Regions from separate parts of the Homo sapiens genome. Here all the other regions are linked to region 4. The links are contacts of gene promoters, found by promoter capture Hi-C in blood cells and fetal thymus (Javierre and others, 2016). All regions are on one chromosome and are shown on one strand. The core of a region is centred on a gene start or on the middle of the fragment in contact, and the rest is flanking DNA. Distances in the headings are between cores, read along the strand shown.

Region 1 (3,280 bases), core at 209-2,708, 450 kb after region 4:
TCAGGCCTCAGCCTCCCAAGTAGCTAGGATTACAGGCATGTGCCACTATGCCCAGCTAATTTTTGTATTTTTAGTAAACACAGATTTTTGCCATGTTGACCAGGCTAGTCTCCAACTCCTGGCCTCAAGTGATCTGCCCGCTTTGGCCTCCCAAAGTGCTGGGATTACAGGCATTAGCCACAATACATCTGAGAATTATTTAGACTAAATTATGGGCTGGGCACAGTGGCTCATGACTGTAATCCCAGCACTTTGGGAGGCCAAGGCAGGTGGATTGCTTTGAGCTCAGGAGTTTGAGACCAGCCTGGACAAAATGGTGAAACCCCATCTCTACAAAAAAAAAAATAATCAGCCAGGCATGGTGGCTCATGCCTGTAGTCTCAGCTATTCAGGAGGCTGAGGCTGGAGGATCATTTGAGCCCAGGAAACAGAGGTTGCAGTGAGCCAAGACTGCACCATTGCACACCAGCCTGAGCAACAGAGTAAGACCTTGTCTCAAAAATAATAATAAAGTAAAAGAAATTATGCACAAAAAACTGAATAGCTGAGTTGTATGTTTGTGGATGTTTATTTGTGAGATCTCTGAGAAGAAATATGTTTGTAGTAAGTTTAGAGTGCTTCCCATATTCATGATATTCAGAGAATCTCTTCAGACTTTGTTTTCTCTGGGTAAATGCCATTTTCCTCATATAATTTTCATGAATATTGTGCTTCTTGTCCTAGTGTGGAAGATTTCATCCCTTGGAAATCTTACCAATTGTACTCCATTTGGTGATCTTTCTGCAGAAATATCTTGCAGCAGTGGGGAGCCTTTGGTTTTGAGTTGCAAATCCAATTCTGAAATAAAGTGAAAAATGCAGCTTGGGAGAAAAATTGTGGAATAAAGTCGTTTAAAAGCCTATGGGGCTGGGCGTGGTGGCTCACACCTGTAATCCTAGCACTTTTGGAGGCCTAGATAGGTGGCTTACCTGAGGTTAGGAGTTCAAGACCAGCCTGGCCAACATGGTGAAACACTGTCTCTACTAAAAATACAAAAAATTAGCCAGGTGCAGTGGTGCATGCCTGTAATCCCAGCTACTCAGGAGGCTGAGGCAGGAGAATCACTTGAACCCAGAGGGTGGAGGTTGCGGTGAGGTGAGATCCACCACTGCACTCCAGCCTGGGCTACAGAGCAAGACTTCGTCTCAAAAAAAAAAAATGCCTAAGGAACAGACATAGCATAATCAAATGTGGCAGAGTGAAGAACTACAGGGCTCTTTCCTACCACAATATGACTAATAAGTTCAGAAAACCTATCAGAATCAACTGTGCTGGGCTGGGTGTGGTGGTTCATGCCTATAATCCCAGCACTTTGGGAGGTCAAGGTAGGTGGATCACTTGAGTTCAGGAGTTCGAGACCAGCCCGGCCAACATGGTGAAGTGCTGTCTCTACTAAAAATACAAAAATTGGCCAGACATGGTGGTGTACACCTGTAATCCCAGCTACTCAAGTGGCTGAGTCATGAGAATCACTTGAAACCAGGAGGCAGAGGTTGCAGTGAGTCAAGATCATGCCATTGCACTCCAGCCTGGGTGACAGAGTGAGACTCTGTGTCAAAAAAGAAAAAAATATATATATACATATATATATAGCTAAGTGAAAGAAGCTAGAGAGAAAAGGTTACATTGTATGATTCCATTTATATAAGATATACAGAAAGGGTAAATCCGTAGAGAGAGAAAGCAAATTAGTCTCTGTAGGGTGAGTGGGGACTGACTACTTGATGGGTATATGGTTTCCTTTTGGTGTGATGGTAATGCTTTGAAACTAGACCAAGCACACTGGCTCATGCCTGTAATCCCAACACTTTGGGAGACGGAGGCAGGTGGGTCACTTGAGGTCAGGAGTTTGAGACCAGCCTGGCCAACATGGTGAAACTCCATCTCTATCAAAAAACACAAAAATTCACCAGGCATGGTGGCGCACGCCTGTAGTCCCAACTACTCAGAAGGCTGAGGCAGGAGAATCACTTGAAGCCAGGAAGCTGATGGAGGTTGCAGTGAGCCAAGATGGCTCCACTGGACTCTATCCTGGGCAACAGAGAGAGACTCTGTCTCAAACAAACAAACAAACAAAGAAATGCCTTGAAACTAAAAAGAGCTGATAGCTACACAACACTAAAATGGTAAATTTTTGTATATTTTACCTAAAAAAAGTATATGGCACATTTGTATATCTTTCCAAACATGCATAAAACATGATTAAAAAAAAAAAGAGTGAAGCAAATGGAAAGATGGACTATAAAGAGTTTGGCTATGTCAGAAGTTTTGCAATGGTAAAGATATGGTGTCAAAACTATCACTACACCTGTAATGCCAGCACTTTGGGAGGCTGAGGCAGGTGAATCACAAGGTCAGGAGTTCGAGAACAGCCTGGCCAACATAGTGAAATCCCATCTCTACAAAAATACAAAAAATTAGTTGGGCGTGGTGTCAGGTGCCTGTAATCTTAGCTACTTGGGAGGCTGAGGCAGGAGAATTGCTTGAACCCAGGAGGTGGAGGTTGCAGCAAGCCAAGATCATGTCACTGCACACCAGCCAGGGCGACAGTGCAAGACTCCATCTCAAAAAAAAAAAAAACCTGTATTACTTATTATCCAACTAATAATATGCAGAAAACTGAGGCTGGTAGTAAGCAAAAAGATGGGAGAATCAAGAAAGCAATATAAGAAGGTGTTGGCAAAGGACCTACATGCATAAGATGGAATTTTCAAATAAGGCAGACAAACCTTTCTGAGAACAGAAAAGAGGTTGAGAAGATCAATGGAAATTTAAAGATGAGGGGAGTTGAAAGTATCTAAGGAAACCAAATGGCCTCAGCCTTCTCAGGAAGAAGAGTATACCCTGAGAAGTTCGCAAAGTAACATTTCCAATGTACTGCATGTCTCCTAGGGTGGCACAGCAGTGCCATAATACCACATCTGCTTATGAACTCACCCTGCAGAACTCCTGTCACTCCTGTCCTCAGCTCTTCCATTTGTTCCAATCCAGACATGAGACTACGTTTGAATAATTCAGACCCTGCTGGAGGGAAAAATGCACAAAAGAAGAGGCCCATGCAAGACATAACACCATGTCCTTCAATGGGGAACCAATACTTTTGCCTTCGGGGATTCTAAAGATGGTCAAGTGTAACTTTACAAATAGCAAACTAATCATATAACATTTCCAATACATGCACTAAAACTATTTTTAAAATAACAAAAATGTTGCCCAGGTATAATGGCTCATGCCTCATACC
Region 2 (3,198 bases), core at 343-2,842, 370 kb after region 4:
GGCTAGTCTGGATCTCCTGACCTCAGGTGATCCGCCTGCCTCTGCCTCCCAAAGTGCTGTGATTACAGGTGTGAGCCAGTGCATCTGGCCTGGCTTTAAGTAGAAAGGCTTGCAGCTGGTAACAATTAGAAAAAAAATAACCTGCAAGAAAATAAAAATTAAAAACTAAAGGCTTAGTCTACACGCGTTCATATTTACATACAAAAACGGGCACACCCTAAACAACTATGTTTTTTCCATCTGAATGTAATGTGTCAAAAATAAGTGGCGGGTGGATCACTTGAGGTCAGGAGTTCGAGACCAGCCTGGCCAACATGGTGAAACCCCATCTCTACCAAAAATATAAAAAATTAGCCAGGTGTGGTGGTGCACGCCTGGAATCCCAGCTACTCGGGAGGCTGAGGCAGGTGAATCATGTTATAAAGTTTTCATGCCACAAAAAAAAAGCACTCAAATATAACATTTTCTTTTCTCAGCAAGGCAATTTACTTCTACAGAAGGGTGTGCCCTCACAGATGGAGCAATGGTGAGCACACACCAGGACAAGGGAGGGGAAGGGGTTCTTATTCTTGAGGAAAGTGGCCCCTGCCGCTTTGTCCTTCCCCGATGGCTAGGGTTAGACCCCACAGGCTAAACTAATTCCAATTGGCTAATTTAAAGAGAGTGACAGGGTGAGTGGTTTGTTGGGGAAAATGGTTATAACAGAGCAGGAAATTGGAATGAGTCAGGGTGGAAAATGAGTCAGGGTGGAGTAAGTAATCGAAATAAGTCTGGGTGGAGCAGGTAATCAGAATGAGTCAGGGTGGAGCAGGTGATCGAAAAAGGTTGCTTTACGGAGAAGTTTAAAAGTAGAAGGCAAAGAATTAAACATACTGACATATTGATTTTTTAAAAAGAAATTTAAAACTCATATCTAACAATCACTTGAACCCGGGAGGTGAAAGTTGCAGTGAGCCAACATCGTGCCACTGCACTCCAGCGTGGGCGACAGAGTAAGACTCCAAATCAAAAAAAAAAAAAAAGTAAAGGACATCAAGACAACGCCAGATTCTCAGATGAGACATTTTTTAGCAAATAAATGGAAGTCACAGCCCTCTTGAAACCATTTTTCCGCCGTTGCTCACCAGGAACATGCCGGAAGAGATAGGTTCCAGACGCGGGAGAATGCGGGGCCAGAGCCAACCTCACCAGAAGGGCAGAAATCCTTTTCCTTTCGGAAAGAAAAAAACTCCCAAAGGTTGCTTTCCAAGCTTTTCAAGAGAGGAGCACAGCGGATGAAAGTACTCAAGAAAACACCCGGCGGAGGCGGAACAAACACACTTCCCGACGCAGCCAGACGGACTGTGCGGCCTCTCGGAACTGGCCAGAGGCCGCACCAGGAGGACTGACAGCCCCTAGAAAAGCGAGTGAAACTAGGCGGATCTGAGAGGCTCCTGGGCGACCACGCCCAATCCTTCCTTTGCCGCCCCGCTGGTATGTCCCGGACCCCCAAGCAGGTAGAACTCACCACAGCGGGGTGGACTCCACCACAATAAAGGTTAAACGGCACTGACCATGCTGAGCCACAGCCGGTAAAGATGGCGGTGGCACACTGACGTCACTTCCGCTCCGAGCCTCCGGCCGGGTGGGGCTCCAGGGCTTGAGTTTCAGGCACGTAGGACAAAGAAATTCTAGTTTCCTCCTGGGTGGGTGCCGGACAGTGCCTGGGGTTGGCTCAGGGAGCGGGATGCAGAAACGGGTTCAGAGAAAAAGATGAGTTTAGAACCGGACCTCTGGACGGAACCGTGGGCGAGGGGTGGGGCCCATATTTGGGGGCGGTTTAGAGGTGGGACCCGGCCTAGCCCGCGTTTCAGGTGCCCAGACGGGTTGGAAAGGCGGGGATGGGGGATGGGACGCACCCCAGAGGATGCTCCTCCAAAGCTTATCCTGGGCGGGCTCAGTGGCTCACGCCTGTAATTCCAGCACTTTGGGAGGCTAAGGCAGGTGGATAGCTTGAGTCCAAGAGTTCCAGACCAGCCTGAGTGAAATAGCAAGACCGTGTGTCTTTTTTTTTCTTTTCTTTTTTTTTTTTTTTTTTTTTTTGAGACAGAGTTTCACTCTTGTTGCCCAGGCCTGTGCCCGGCTCGACCCTGTCTCTATTAAAATATATATATAAGGCCAAGCGCCAGTGGTTCACGCCTGTAATCCCTGCACTTTGGGAAGCCAAGGCGGGCGGATCACCTGAGGTCGGGAGTTTGACACCAGCCTGGCCAACATGCTGAAACCCCGTCTCTACTAAAAATACAAAAAAATAGCTGGGTGTGGTGGCAGGCGCTTGTAATCCCAGCTACTCAGGAGGCTGAGGCAGGAGAATCGCTTGAACCCGGGAGGCGGAGGTTGCGGTGAGCCGAGGTTGCGCCACTGCACTCCAATCTGGGGGACAAGAGCGTGACTTCATCTCAAAAAGAAAAAATATATATATATGTGTGTGTGTGTGTGTGTGTGTGTGTGTGTGTGTGTGTGTCAAGCTTTTTTGTATGCCGCTCCTCATGTTCCTGGAGCCTTTCCATGATTCTTCCATATTAAACCTGCCAGTGATAGATGGCATGGTCTGTCTCTTCCATTCAGTCATTCTTTCTGTAGGCCTTTATTTTTTCTTTTTCTTTTTCTTTTTTTTTTTTTTTTGAGACGGAGTCTCTCTCTGTCCCCCAGGCTGGAGTGCAGTGGTGCAATCTCGGCTCACTGCAAGCTCCGCCTCCTGGGTTCACACCATTCTCCTGCCTAGCCTCCTAAGTAGCTGGGACTACAGGCGCCCGCGACCACAACCAGCTAATTTTTTTGTATTCTTAGTAGAGACGGGGTTTCACGGTGTTAGCCAAGATGATCCCCATCTCCTGACCTCATGATCCACCCGCCTCGGCCTCCCAAAGTGCTGGGATTACAGGCGTGAGCCACCGCGCCCAGCCTATTTTTTCATTCTTTATTTTATAGAACCTGCTGTTTCCATTGCGTTTTCTTTTTACTTTTTTTTTTTTTTTTTTTTTTTTTTGAGACTGGAGTCTCACTCTGTTGCCCGGGCTGGAGTGCAGTGGTGCAATCTCAGCTCACTGCAACCTCCGTCTCCTGGGTGCAAGTGATTCTCCTGCTTCAGCCTCCTGAGTAGCTGGGATTACAGGTGGCTGCCACTATGCCCAGCTATTTTTTCTATTTTCAGTACAG
Region 3 (3,082 bases), core at 351-2,850, 290 kb after region 4:
TCAGGGTGGAGAAGGTAATCTGAATGAGCAGAATGAGTCAGGGTGGAGTAGGTAATGAGTCAAGGAGTAGAATGTGTCAGGGTGGAAAAGGTTGCTTTACGAGGAAGTTTAAAAGTAGAAGGCAAAGAATTGAGCATACTGACATATTAATTCTTTGAAGGGAAACTTCGAATTCACACTCAACAACTCTAAAGTGATTCTCTATCCTTGGCCTCCCACATTTCTTTTTTTTTTTTTTGAGACAGACTCTCACTCTGTTGCCAGGCTGGAGTGCAGTGGACTGATCTCAGCTCACTGCAACCTCTGCCTCCTGGGTTCAAGTGATTCTCATGCCTCAGCCCCCCAAGTAGCTGGGACTACAGGTGCCAGCCACCACGCCCAGTGAATTTTCGTATTTTTAGTAGAGACGGGGTTTCACCATGTTGGCCAGGATGCTCTTGATCTCCTGACCTTGTGATCCACCTGCCAAGGCCACCCAAAGTGCTCAGATTACAGGCATGAGCCACCATGCTCAGCCTTGGCCTCCTACATTGTTGGGATTACAGACATGAGCCACTGTGCTTGGCCCTTTATTCCTTTACATATTTAATATTTTAAAAAATTAACAAAGAGGCCAGGCACAGTGGCTCAGGCCTTTAATCCCAGCACTTTGGGAGGCTGAGGTGGGTGGATTACGAGGTCAGGAGTTCGACACCAGCCTGGCCAATATGGTGAAACCCCATCTCTACTAAAAAATACAAAAATTAGCTGGGCATGCTGGTGCGTGCCTGTAGTCCCAGATACTCAGGAGGCTGAGACAGGAGAATTGCTTGAACCCAAGAGGCAGAGGTTGCAGTGAGCCAAGATCGCTACACTGCACTCCAGCCTGGGTGCAGAGACTCCATCTCAAAAAAATAAGTAAATAAATAAACACCACACCCAATCAGCTCAAGCCTGTGGCTAGAGATAAGAATGCAGAAAGAATTGGCCAGGCGCGGTGGCTCACGCCTGTAATCCCAGCACTTTGGGAGGCCGAGGCGGGTGGATCACGAGGTCAGGAGATTGAGACCATCCTGGCTAACACAGTGAATCGCCGTCTCTACTAAAAACACACACAAAAAAATTAGCCGGGCGTGGTTGTGGGCACCTGTACTCCCAGCTACCCAGGAGGCCAAGGCAGAATGGAGTGAACCCGGGAGGCAGAGCTCGCAGTGAGCCGAGATCACACCACTGCACTCTAGCCTGGGTGACAGAGCAAAACTGTGTCTCAAAAAAAAAAAAATCTAGAAAGAATCTAGAGACATCTTTCCTGCCCAAGATAGTGTTTTCCTCCTACTTCCTTTAAACTGACTATCCATGTATTTGCTCCTAAATTTAAAGTGACTCACACCCTATTCCCTTATGTATACAGCTAGCTGCCACAACCTCCCTCCTTCTCTGCCTCTCATCCCTGCCTTGCGTGACCCATGGATGGAAGACTGTCCTCAAAACTCATTTTGCCCTCCCTTCCCAGGACGTGTAAGCAATAAATCTTTGAAATTATGTCCTATTGGGGTGGTGTTTTGAATTTGCACATACCATCTGAAGAACCAGGGGCCGCCCCTGGTTGAGATTTCCCCAGGGAGCTGGTGGGGACACAAGGTCAGGTTTCCAGTGTCAGAGTGATGATCAGGCAGGCATAAACTGAACACAGGTCAGACAAGAGCAGCTATGTCGCTGGGCACGGTGACTCACGCCTGTAATCCCAGCACTTTGGGAGGCCAAGGTGAGCGGATCACCTGAGGTCAAGAGTTTGAGACCAGCCTGGCCAACATGGTGAAACCTCGTCTCTACTAAAAATACCAAAAATATTAGCTGGGTGTGGTGGCATATGCCTGTAGTCCCAGCTACTCGGGGAGGCTGAGGCAGGAGAACTGCTTGAACCCAGGAGGCGGAGGTTGAAGTAAGCCAAGATCGGGCCACTGCGCTCCAGCTTGGGAGACACAGGGAGACTCCATCTTAAAAAAAAAAAAAAAAAAAAAAAAAAGAGCGGCCTAGGTCATCTATCAGTATAAACAAGTTTCCCAGGTGAGGGACCCCCTGTCAACCAGGTTTTGCGTGACAACTCACACTGTAATCCCAGCACTTTGGGAGGCTGAAGCAGGCAGATCACTTAGCTAAGGAGTTCCAGACCAGCATAGCCAACATGGCGACACCCCGTCTCTACTAAAAATACAAAAATTAGCCCAGCATGGTAGTGGAGGCATGTAATCCAAGCTACTTGGGAGGCTGAAGCAGGAGAATCGCTTGAGCTCTGGAGTGGCAGGTTGCAGTGAGCTGAGATCACGCTACTGCACTCCATCCAGCCTGGATGACAAAGGCAGACTCTGTCATTCATCAATCAATAAATAATTAATTAACTTTAAAAAATGTATCCCTTAGGCCAGTCGTGGTGGCTCACTCCTGAAATCCCAGCACTTTGGGAGGCTGAGGCGGGCAGATCGCCTGAGGTCAGGAGTTTGAGACCAGCCTGACCAACATGATGAAACCCCATCTCTAATAAAAATACAATATTAGCCGGGTGTCGTGGTTCATGCCTGTAGTCCCAGCTACTCAGGAGGCTGAGGCAGGAGAATCGCTTGAATCCAGGAGGCAGAGGTTGCAGTCAGCCAAGATCAAGTCATTGCACTCCAGCCTGGGCAACACAGCAAGACTCCATCTCAAGAATGCAATGGAATGGAATGGAATGAATGGAATGGAATGGAATGGAATGGAATGGAATGGAATGGGCCGGGCATGGTGGCTCACGCCTGTAGTCCCAGCACTTTGGAAGGCCAAAGCGGGTGGATCACCTGAGGTCAGGAGTTCGAGACCAGCCTGACCAGTATGGTGAAACCCCATCTCTACTAAAAATACAAAAATAACCCCAGCTACTTGGGAGGCTGAGGCTGGAGAATTGCTTGAACCTGGGAGACAGAGGTTGCAGTGAGCCGAAATTGCGCCACTGCACTCCAGCCTGGGCGATAGAGGGAGACTCCATCTCAAAAAAAAAAAAAAAAAAAAAAAAGAATAGAATAGAATAGAACAGAATAGAATAGAATAGAATGGAAATAATGCTGAGTGC
Region 4 (3,405 bases), core at 867-3,366:
GTGGATCACAAGGTCAGGAGTTCAAGACCAGCCTGGCCAAGATGGTGAAACCCACCTCTACTAAAAATACAAAAAAATTAGCTGGGCATGGTGGCAGGTGCCTGTAATCGCCACTACTTGGGAGGCTGAGGCAGAGAATTGTTTGAACCCAGGAGGCAGAGGTTGCAGTGAGCCAAGATCACGCCACTGCACTCCAGCCTGGGAGACACAGCGAGACTCTGTCTCAAAAAAAAAAAAAAAAATCGGTATTAATAGGCTAGACTATTGATATATAAAGTTGAATAAAGACCAGCATAAAAGTTTAGAAAGAAAATAGAAAATAATCTTTTTTAAAACATAGTAAACAAAATCAGAAAAGCTAAAAAAGCATCCTTTGCAAAAAGAAAAACTAATGAAACTGACAAACTCAGCTTTTTAAAAAAATTTTTTAATTTAATTTATTGTTTAAGACAGACTCTTTATGTTCCCAGGTTGATCTCATTTCCTAGGCTCAAGCGATCCATCTGCCTTAGCTTCCCACCAGCTGGGACTACAGATATGCGCCACTGCAGCCAGCAACAGACTCAGCAATTTTAAGAGCAACAGGGCATAAACAACAACAACAAAAAAAAAATGAACAAGAATTAATCATAATTACAGATATCATAAGGAGAATATAGAAAAAATTTAAGGAATAAATATGAAGATGCACAGGTAATTAATGAATTTCTAGAAAGTAGTACAACTTTCAAGCAGTGATCTAAAACCTGATTACACCCAGTAATTAAAGAAAAAAAAATCAGCGGTTTAAAACACGGTCAGGCCGGGTGCAGTGGCTCATGCCTGTAATTCCAGCACTTTGGGAGGCGGAGAGCCCATGAGTTCGAGACCTGCCCGGGCAACAGAGCGAGACTCCTATTTTCTAAAAAGAAATAGGAATAAAGAAAGGAAAAAAACCTACAAACACCTACAGCAAACATCCTATTTAATGGTGAAATGATAGAATAATTCCCTCTGGAATCAGAAACAAGACAGGATGTAAATTACATGCTATTCTGTCGGACATTGTACTGGAGGTCCTGGCAAGTGCAGTAAAGAAATGAAAAGAAATGGAAACTGCAAGGAATAAAAAGGGAAAAGATTGAAACTGACAGATGACCAAATTTTCTGTGTGAAATTTAACCAATCTATAGACAAATGATTCAAATGCATCATTAATGACAAAATGCATCAGTTCACTTTCACTTGAATATAATGTATCAAACTGATGTCCACAGGCAGAATATAATATCCAGAGACCAAATACTATCTTTTTGTTTTTTTGAGACAGTGTCTCGCTCTGTTGCCCAGGCTGGAGTGCAGTGATGCGATCTCAGCTCACTGCAACCTCTGCCTCCCGAGTAGCTGGGAACACAGGAGAGCACCTTTTATTTTACTTTTTTTTTTTTTTTTTTTTTTGGTAGAGACGGGATCTTGCTATGTTGCCCAGGCTGGCCTCAAACTCCTGGGCTCAAGCGATCCGCCCGCCTCGGCCGCCCAAAGTGCTGGGATTACAGGCGTGAACCACCGCGCTTGGCCCAAACACTACCTAATGCATAAAGAGGGGACAGGAGGGGACCGAGCCGAGGCAAATGTCACCCCGTGCTCACCCGACACGCCGCGATCCACAGATCAGCTCACAGAGAACGAGGCTGAAGCGCTTGTCCTTGAGACACGAATGGCAGAGATGCTCTTCCTTTCTGGAAAGAGAGCAAAGGATGCTTTCGGAGGCTGATGAACTACGACATTGGTTCTCCAACTCTCGCCTGCATCAGAATCACCCCGATTTCTGTACCCAGACCAGAGTTCCCGATTCAGTGAGTTTGGGACCAGCCGCGGCCACAGGGGCAGCTGACCCGGGCTCTCTGAGGAGGCGCCGCGGCGGCGGGAGGCCCCGGGCGCGGGGTCCGGACAAGGAGTGGCGGGGAGGCAGCCCTTAGACCGCCGATTCCCAAACCCAGCCCTCGGTCTCCCGCGGACCCGACCCGGGGCAGGCAGGGCGGGGCGGGGCAGGGCAGGACAGGAAGCGGGCGGAGGCAAAAATGTTCCTCAGACGCGGGCGGAGGCGTAGGGTGACAAGGCTGTCGACTCGCGCATGCGCAGAAGCACACTTCTGATTCCTCTTTCGGCGCTGCAAATGGCGTATGGGGCGGGGCCTGGGAAGCGGGACTTGAGGTGAAGGGGGTGGAGCAGGTAGGAGCGGGATGCAAAGGAGCGCCAAGGCTGGTTCCAGCCGCAAGTGGATGAGAAATCCTAGTTTCTTCATGATTTGGAGTAAACAGAGAAGAAACAGAACCCTGAACTGGACTTGCATGACTCGGCCTGAGGGGCGGAACTGGGGCTAGACCTAGGGGCGTGGCCTTTTAAATACTCCAAGGGGCGGGGCTAAAGGTGGAACCAGATTGGGAGCGGGGCTTGGTAGAAATTCCTAGGGGGCGGAGACGAGGGCTGGGCGGGGCTTAAGTGACAAGGCCTAGGGATGGGGCTAAGGCTAGGGCTTCCCATCCAGGTTCTCAGCTACCACGGATACAGGATGCTCATCGATCGGGTTTCTACCTATCCTCCACGTTGCTACAGTCCTGTACACAGGACACATATATTTGCAGCTCTAATAGGAAACAGACTCTCCTTGACACTCACTCAGTCCTTTTGGGCCTTTTAGTTTTCCCTTTCATTGTTGTATTGATAACTTCTCCTGTAGAGGGAAGCCATTGATAATTATTTAAATAGAACCTTTTTCCTGGAAACTTGCTGAATTCTGATAGCTGTCAGTTTATTATTTGAACCATCAAATATAAATATTTTCTCTGCATATTTTCATTGTTTTAATGTGTATAACTCATTTCTTTATGTGAGGCAATGTCTCATTCTATCGCCTAGACTGGAGTGCAGTGGCGCGACCATGGCTCACTGCAGCCTTGACTTCCCCAGCTCAAGTGATGGTCCCATCTCAGCCCCCCAAGTAGCTGAGAATACAGTCGCGTACCACCCCACCCAGCTATTTTCTTTATTTTTTTGTAGAGATGGGATCGCACTATGTTGCTGAAGCTGGTCTCAAACTCCTGAGCTCAAGCTATCCTCTCACCTCAGCCTCCCAGAGTGCTAGGGGTACAGGTGTAAGCCACCACACCCAGAGTCATTTCTTTTTCTTATTGTTTGTTTAGGGCTTCCTCAACTATAAGTCGGAAAGAAATTAAGCATTCTTGTCTTGGTCGGTAATGATTACCAAAGTTCCTCAGTAAGCTGTTTACAACAGGTTGCACCTCTTATCAAGTTAATCTTTTTAAACCAGGTTTATAAAGATATTTTATCAATAATTTTTTATGAACACTATCAAATGTTTATGCAACAATTGAGTTGATAACATAATTTTGCTCCTCTTAGTTT
Region 5 (3,315 bases), core at 496-2,995, 260 kb after region 4:
TGACACTTTGGTTTTAACTTGCCATTCTGAAGTAAAACAGAAAAAAAGAAAAAAAAATAGGGTCTGAGAACAAAACAGTAGGTTAAATAAGTCAGAATTATAAAGCTCATTTTTATTTGTCATATTCAGCACACTCAAAAAAATTAAACAGACATAGATTTGAACAGTTTATCCATGACGAACATTTGGCAATCGTAAGGACTTGGGGTCTAAACTTAGTAATTTTTTTTTTTTTTGAGACAGAGTCTCGCTCTGTCACCCAGACTGGAGTGCTGGAGTGCAGTGGCATGATCTCGGCTCACTGCAACCTCCACCTCCTGGGTTCAAGCGATTCTCCTGCCTCAGCCTCCGAGTAGCTTGGATTACAGGTGCCCACCACCAGGCCCGGCTAATTTTTGTATTTTTAGTAGAGACGGGGTTTCTCCATGTTGGCCAGGCTGGTCTCAACTCCTGACCTCAAAAGATCCACCCGCCTCAGCCTCCCAAAGTGCTGGGATTACAGGCATAAGCCACCATGCCCAGCAATTTAGTAATTTTTTAAACAATTTATTCTATAGAAATTAAATGAGATAATGAACAGAAATAGTATTAGGGAAGGAAAATAGAAATGATCTGGATAAAGAGCACACATTAAAGTCATAAACAAAAAGATAAAAGAGCACTCATTTGCAAAATCACATGAAAGTCTGGGTTAGATGAAAAAGAGAGGAATATGGAAAGTTGAAGATACCCTAAAACTTCCAAGTCCAATGGCCCCATGTTCTGTGACAAAGTACATCTTTTAAATATATCTTCATTATGCTTCCAAACATACTGAACTTCTCATTGACCAGGAGTGTTCTTCATACTCACCTTGGGGAACTCCGGTTGGCAATGTGCTCAACTTTTCCTTCTCCTCCTCCAGTCAAGAGACAGACTGAGTTTGAATAGGTCCTGTACAGAGGGAAAGATACATCAATGGAAGAGGCTTATGAAGGAAATGACAAACGTAACCAAGAAAAAAACAACTATATTCCTAAAGAGAGTAGTGAAACTATTTTAAAAGAGCTCAAATTTCATATATCTCATCCTTTTGTGCCCTGAGGAGTTGGTTATCTCTGACCAAATACCCACTATTCAGACTTAAATACACATTTAAAAACCATTAAAGACTGGGCGCAGTGGCTCATGCCTGTAATCCCAGAACTTTGGGAGGCTGAGGTGGGAGAATCACCTGAGCCTGGGGAGGTTGAGGCTGCAGTGAGTCATGATTGCACCACTGTACTCCAACCTAGGTGACAAAGTGAGACCCTGTCTTAAAAAAAATAAAATAAAAACCATTAAAACGTGTATTCAAATAGGAAATAATCCAAGTGCAAAGAGAGATCATTATTTTGTTTTCTGGTTTTGTTTTTTTTTTTGAGACAGAGTCTCACTCTGTCACCCAGGCTGGAGTGCAATGGCACTGTCTCAACTCACTGCAACCTCCACCTCCCAGGTTCAAGTGATTCTCCTGCCTCAGCCTCGTGAGCAGCTGGGGTTACAGGCACCCACCATCAGGTCTGGCTAATTTTTTTGTATTTTTATAGAGACAGGGTTTCACCACATTGGCCAGGCTTGTCTTGAACTCCCGACCTCAGGTGATCCGCCCACCTCAGCCTCCCAAAGTGCTGGGATTGCAGGTGTGAGCCACCACGCCTGGCCGAGATCTTTTTTTTTTTTTTTTTTTTTACGATATCGTCAAAAGCTCGAATATTGTGTCTTTTGTAGCTTTTCTTATATCATGGGTAGTATTACATCTCTCTCTCTCTCTCTTTTTTTTCTTTTTGAGAGATTTTTGCTCTGTCCCCCAGGCTGGAGTGTAGTGGCACAATCTTCGCTCACTACAACCTCTGCCGCCGCCCACCCTAGTTCAAGCAATACAAAAATTAGCAGGGCGTGGTGGCACGTGCCTGTAGTCCCAACCACTCAGGAGGCTGAGGCAGGAGAATCGCTTTTACTCAGGAAGCAGAGGCTGCAGTGAGCCGAGATCATGCCACTGCACTCCAGGCTGGGCAACAGAGCAAGATTCCATCCAAAAACAAAAGAATCAGAGAGCTTCTTTAGGACACCCCTGAAATAAAGTTATTTCTTATGTTCTCAGGGCTGAAATTGTTATAATTAATGAGGCTCATATGCCAGAGCTTCCCTGGCATAATGTGAAGGAGGGAATCCTAGAGAGACAGGAGTGTTGCACTGGATTTACTATGTGTCATCTGTATAGCCCACTCCCCCGCCCTTTGTTGACAGAGCAGAAGACACTCTCTTCACAAAGGTTATTAAGAGAGTAGTGGCGGGAGTGTCGTAATCCTTGAAAAGCTCTGTTGGTATTCTCCTTCATAGGACAGGTATGACTGCAAAGAATACCATCACTGAGATGAGTTCCCTGGGTTTTTTTGTTTGTTTGTTTGTTTTTGAGACGGAGTTTTGCTCTTGTTGCCCAGGATGGAGTGCAATGACGCAGTCTAGGCTCACTGCAACCTCCGCCTCCTGGGTTAAAGCGATTCTCCTGCCTGAGCCTCCCAAGTAGCTGGGATTACAGGCACCTGCCACCACACTTGGCTAATTTTTTGCGAGGGGGGGGGGTATTTTTAGTACAGACGGGGTTTAACCATATTGGCCAGGATGGTCTAGAACTCCTGGCCTCAGGTGATCTGCCCGCCTCAGCCTCCCAAAGTGCTGGGATTACAGGCGTGAGCCACCGCACCCAGCCGAGTTCCCTGCTTTCAATCGAGATGAAGGGGACCCAGAATAGCAGAAATCAAGAAGGTAGTATTTAATCACCAAACACAAGGTGAGAAAATCAACTATCAAGGACAGTGGAAATGTACCAGTAATCAGAATGCCCTGACCTACAGAGATCTGTGGTGGTGGCTAACTGATCGTGCTGTCCCTAGAAATGAAATAGATAAGCAGTTAACAAAGCCTACTCTAAAGAGCCACAAAATATATGTTAGGCATTATGGGCCACATGGTCTCTGTTGCAGCTACTCAACTCTGCTGTTGTAGCATGGAAAATACCATAGAAAATGTAAACAAATGAACACGGTTGTGTTCTGATTAAACTTTATATACAAAAAACACATGGAGAGACAGATATGGCCCATGGGCCATAGTGTACCAATCTCTGTACTTGAATACTGCTCCATCTATGTAAAAAGTCTAAACTATAGTAGCCAAAAACTGGATTTATCCCAGTGGAGAATCATAACCTGTCACTCAATTACCACACTGAAATCATTCATAAATCATGAACTTAGGTGATCACTCCAATTACCGCCATTTTTCAAAATGTAA
Region 6 (3,231 bases), core at 151-2,650, 500 kb after region 4:
TGTCTGATGTCCCATCACCCCATCACCCCTTGGGGCAAGGCCCATGTTAGAGGTCACTAAGGCAGAATGAATTCTCCATAGGGTAAGCCCAGGAAGAAGACACCTGTAACCAGTGGTATGCCACAGCTCAGGAGAGCCAAATGCTGAATCTTCAACTATTTTGTGAGCCAGTTGTTAAACTGTTGGTAGCTTGAAACCAGCTGTGGTGAGACAGTGTTTACACCATAGTAATCTGCAAATGCTACAGATCAGGGCCTTCTTCCCCCACCTGCTAGCACTGCCTGTAAACACTTACCTGCTTCAAAATTAATGCCTGCTGGCCAGTTGCAGCGGCTCACACCTGTAATCCCAGCACTTTGGGACGCTAAAGCAGGCGGATCACTTAAGGCCAGGAGTTTGAGACCAGCCTGGCCAACATGGTGAAACCCCATCTCCTAAAAATATAAAAATTGGCTGGGTGTGGTGGCATGTGCCTGTAATCCCAGGTACTCAGGAGGCTGAGGCAGGCTGCAGCATAAACCTTGGAGGCAGAGGTTGCAGTGAGCTGAGATCGCACCATTGCACTCCAGCTTAGGTGACAGAGTGAGACTAGCATCTCCAAAAAACAAACAAAAAAACTAAAACGAATGCCTGCTGCTCCCTCCCTTCCAACTGGAAAGGCAGAGAGGAAAAAGAAAGGAAGCTTTTTTGCCCTAGAGTTGTTCCAGGTTGGGGCATCGGCAATGCACTTCCAGAACCACCTGCAGAGTCCAGCACAGGGCTGGTGTTGAGTCACCCTCATGTTCTCCCAAACTGACCCCAGCTCTCCAGACACTCTCTGCAAGCAAAACAAACCTCATTTCCCTCCTTGTTCCCACAGGCTCTGAGACTTCACCAATCTCTGTTTCTACCTGGTTCAACCCAGCCCCCTGATGTCCTGGGCTGGAGCTGCTGGGGTGGTCACAGCATTGGACAATCAGACCTTGACTAGGGCCACATCAGGGGCACACTCATAGCCTAGTCCTCATGTGGCCAGATGGAGAAGGAATTTCAGGTGAGGTGGCTCATGCCTGTAATCCCAGTATTTTGGGAGGCCAAGGCAGGAGGATCATTTGCACTCAGGAGTTAGAGACCAGCCTGGGCAACACAGTGAGACCCCCATCTCTACAAAAAATAAAAAGTAGCTAGGTGTGGTGGCACATTCCTGTGGTCCCAGCTACTTGGGAGGCTGAAGTAGGATGGCTTGAGCCCAGGAGTTCGAGACCAGTCTTGGCAACATAGGGAGACTCCTGTCTCTGTCTGTCTACCTGTCTGTCTATCTATCTATCTATATTTATTTTTGAAACAGAGTCTCTCTCTGTTGCCCAGGCTGGAGTACAGTGGCACAATCTCGGCTCTCTGCAACCTCCTATCTATCTATCTATATTTATTTTTGAAACAGAGTCTCTCTCTGTTGCCCAGACTGGAGTGCAGTGGTACAATCTCGGCTCTCTGCAACCTCCCACTCCAGGGTTCAAGCGATTCTCCTGCCTCAGCCTCCTGAGTAGCTGGGATTATAGGCATGTGCCACCAAGTCCAGCTAATCTTTGTATTTTTAGTAGAGACGGGGTTTCACCATGTTGGCCAGGCTGGTCTCGAACTCCTGACCTCAGATGATCCTCCCGCCTTGGTGTCCCAAAGTGCTGGGATTACAGGCATGGGACACACCGTGCCTGGCCCCATCTCTATTTAAAAAAAAAAAAAAAAAAAAAAAAAAGGTTGGGCGCAGTGGCTCACACCTGTAATCCCAGCACTTTGGGAGGCCAAGGTGGGCAGATCACAAGGTCAGGAGTTTGAGACCAGCCTGACCAATATGGTGAAACTCCAACTCTACTAAAAATACAAAAATTAGCCAGGCATGGTGGCACACGCCTGTATTCCCAGCTACTTAGGAGGCTGAGGCAGGAGAATCATTTGATCCTGGGAGGCAGAGGTTGCAGTGAGCTAAGATTGCACCACTGCACCACTCCAGCCTGGGCAACAGATCAAGACTCCGTTTCAAAAAAAAAAAAAAAAGAGAGACAGAAAGAGAAGGAATTTCTACTGCAACTCTGAGTGGGAAGAGCATGGGAGGAACATCTCTGGCTCTTCTCTGATGGGTAAGCTTGGAATAAGAAACCAAGTGTACCCAGCTCAGCTCTCTTCTCCAACCTGGCTCTAAGCACCAGAGGAGGCACCTGGGCCTGCTGAGCAGGTGGTGAACCCACAGAGCCGGGGCTTAGCCACACACAGCAACGCTCATCTCACGGGTAGGCACTCACACTTATAATCTGACACCTGCATCTTTCAAGTGGTTCAGACTCGAAAGGCAGGAAAAGGTGGTGTTACTTACTGAACCCCTAAAGCCTGAGCCACCTGCAAGGCCCTGCCCACTCCTGTCCCCATTATCTCCTTTTGTTTTATTTTTTTTTTTTTTGAGACAGGGTCTCACTCTGTCACCCAGTCTGGAGTGCAGTGGTGATCACAGTTCACTGCAACCTCCGAGTCCCAGGCTTAAGCAATCCTCCCACCTCAGCCTCCTGAATAGCTGGGATACCAGCTGGGTAGATGCACACCACCACACCTGGCTAATTTTTTCTGTAGAGACAGGGTTTCACCATGTTGCCCAAGCTGGTCTCAAACTCCTGAACTCAAAGTGATTCACTTGCCTCAGATGTCCCAGGTTGGCCTTAAACTCCTGGGCTCAAGTGATCCACCCACCTCAGCCTCCCAAAGTGCTGGGTTTACACATGTGAGCCACCATGCCCGGCCCTGACCTCAACTTCGACAGCTCTTACCCCTGCTCACTCTGCCACACAACCTTCTTTCTGTTTCTGGAAAATGCCAAGTTCATTCTCATCTTAGCAGTGCTGGCCTTTCCTCTTCTGCCCTAGCTCTTCTGATCTTTGCTTTCTCTTCACCTCTCAGATCTCAGCACAGAGGCCTACCGTGCTCACTCAACCATGCAAGTATGCCTCCATCACGTGACCCTGGTGTACTGGCTCAGAGTCTCCAAAATTACAACATGGTGGCCGAGCGCAGTGGCTCACACCTGTAATTCCAGCACTTTGGGAGGCCGAGGTGAGCAGATCACGAGGTCAGGAGTTTGAGACCAGCCTGACCAACATGGTGAAACCCCATCTCTACTAAAGATACAAAAATTAGCTGGGCGTGGTGGCGGGTGCCTGTAATCCCAGCTACTTGGGAGGCTGAGGCAGGAGAATCACTTGAACC

What was found. The method cuts DNA at HindIII sites, captures the fragments that hold promoters and counts their contacts. A CHiCAGO score of 5 or more calls a contact.
Region 1: a fragment that was not itself captured here is called in contact with the fragment with the promoter of ZNF699 in region 4 in 3 of 17 cell types (neutrophils, naive CD8 T cells and monocytes); the score reaches 7.6 in neutrophils.
Region 2: a contact is called between the fragment with the promoter of ZNF562 here and the fragment with the promoter of ZNF699 in region 4, in 4 of 17 cell types (naive CD4 T cells, fetal thymus, total CD8 T cells and 1 more). The highest score is 5.5, in naive CD4 T cells.
Region 3: a contact is called between a fragment that was not itself captured here and the fragment with the promoter of ZNF699 in region 4, in 4 of 17 cell types (naive CD8 T cells, total CD4 T cells, total B cells and 1 more). The highest score is 7.7, in naive CD8 T cells.
Region 5: a contact is called between a fragment that was not itself captured here and the fragment with the promoter of ZNF699 in region 4, in 9 of 17 cell types (naive CD8 T cells, total CD4 T cells, non-activated CD4 T cells and 6 more). The highest score is 9.7, in naive CD8 T cells.
Region 6: a contact is called between a fragment that was not itself captured here and the fragment with the promoter of ZNF699 in region 4, in 1 of 17 cell types (neutrophils). The highest score is 6.3, in neutrophils.

Annotation. Positions count from the first base shown.
Region 1 is chr19:9,759,106-9,762,385 of GRCh38, forward strand. It overlaps ZNF846 (zinc finger protein 846), which reads right to left. Exons shown (of 6, transcript NM_001077624.3): 4 at 2,977-3,063; 5 at 755-837. Among named protein-coding and RNA genes, the nearest start is that of ZNF846, 8.0 kb to the right of the region's middle. The HindIII fragment of the contact is 4,547 bases long and covers 1-3,280 here.
Region 2 is chr19:9,673,508-9,676,705 of GRCh38, forward strand. It overlaps ZNF562 (zinc finger protein 562), which reads right to left and starts at 1,593. Exons shown (of 6, transcript NM_001130031.2): 1 at 1,508-1,593. RefSeq lists enhancers at 562-1,761, 1,300-1,799, 1,478-1,537, 1,800-2,799. The HindIII fragment of the contact is 670 bases long and covers 1,249-1,918 here.
Region 3 is chr19:9,597,165-9,600,246 of GRCh38, forward strand. No RefSeq gene overlaps it. Among named protein-coding and RNA genes, the nearest start is that of ZNF121, 14 kb to the left of the region's middle. The HindIII fragment of the contact is 8,305 bases long and covers 1-3,082 here.
Region 4 is chr19:9,307,722-9,311,126 of GRCh38, forward strand. It overlaps ZNF699 (zinc finger protein 699), which reads right to left and starts at 2,117. Exons shown (of 6, transcript NM_198535.3): 1 at 1,629-2,117. RefSeq lists a silencer at 1,787-2,036 and an enhancer at 2,097-2,216. The HindIII fragment of the contact is 15,955 bases long and covers 1-3,405 here.
Region 5 is chr19:9,568,150-9,571,464 of GRCh38, forward strand. It overlaps ZNF121 (zinc finger protein 121), which reads right to left. Exons shown (of 4, transcript NM_001008727.5): 2 at 853-933; 3 at 1-26. Among named protein-coding and RNA genes, the nearest start is that of ZNF121, 15 kb to the right of the region's middle. The HindIII fragment of the contact is 7,355 bases long and covers 1-3,315 here.
Region 6 is chr19:9,806,772-9,810,002 of GRCh38, forward strand. No RefSeq gene overlaps it. Among named protein-coding and RNA genes, the nearest start is that of FBXL12, 11 kb to the right of the region's middle. The HindIII fragment of the contact is 1,440 bases long and covers 681-2,120 here.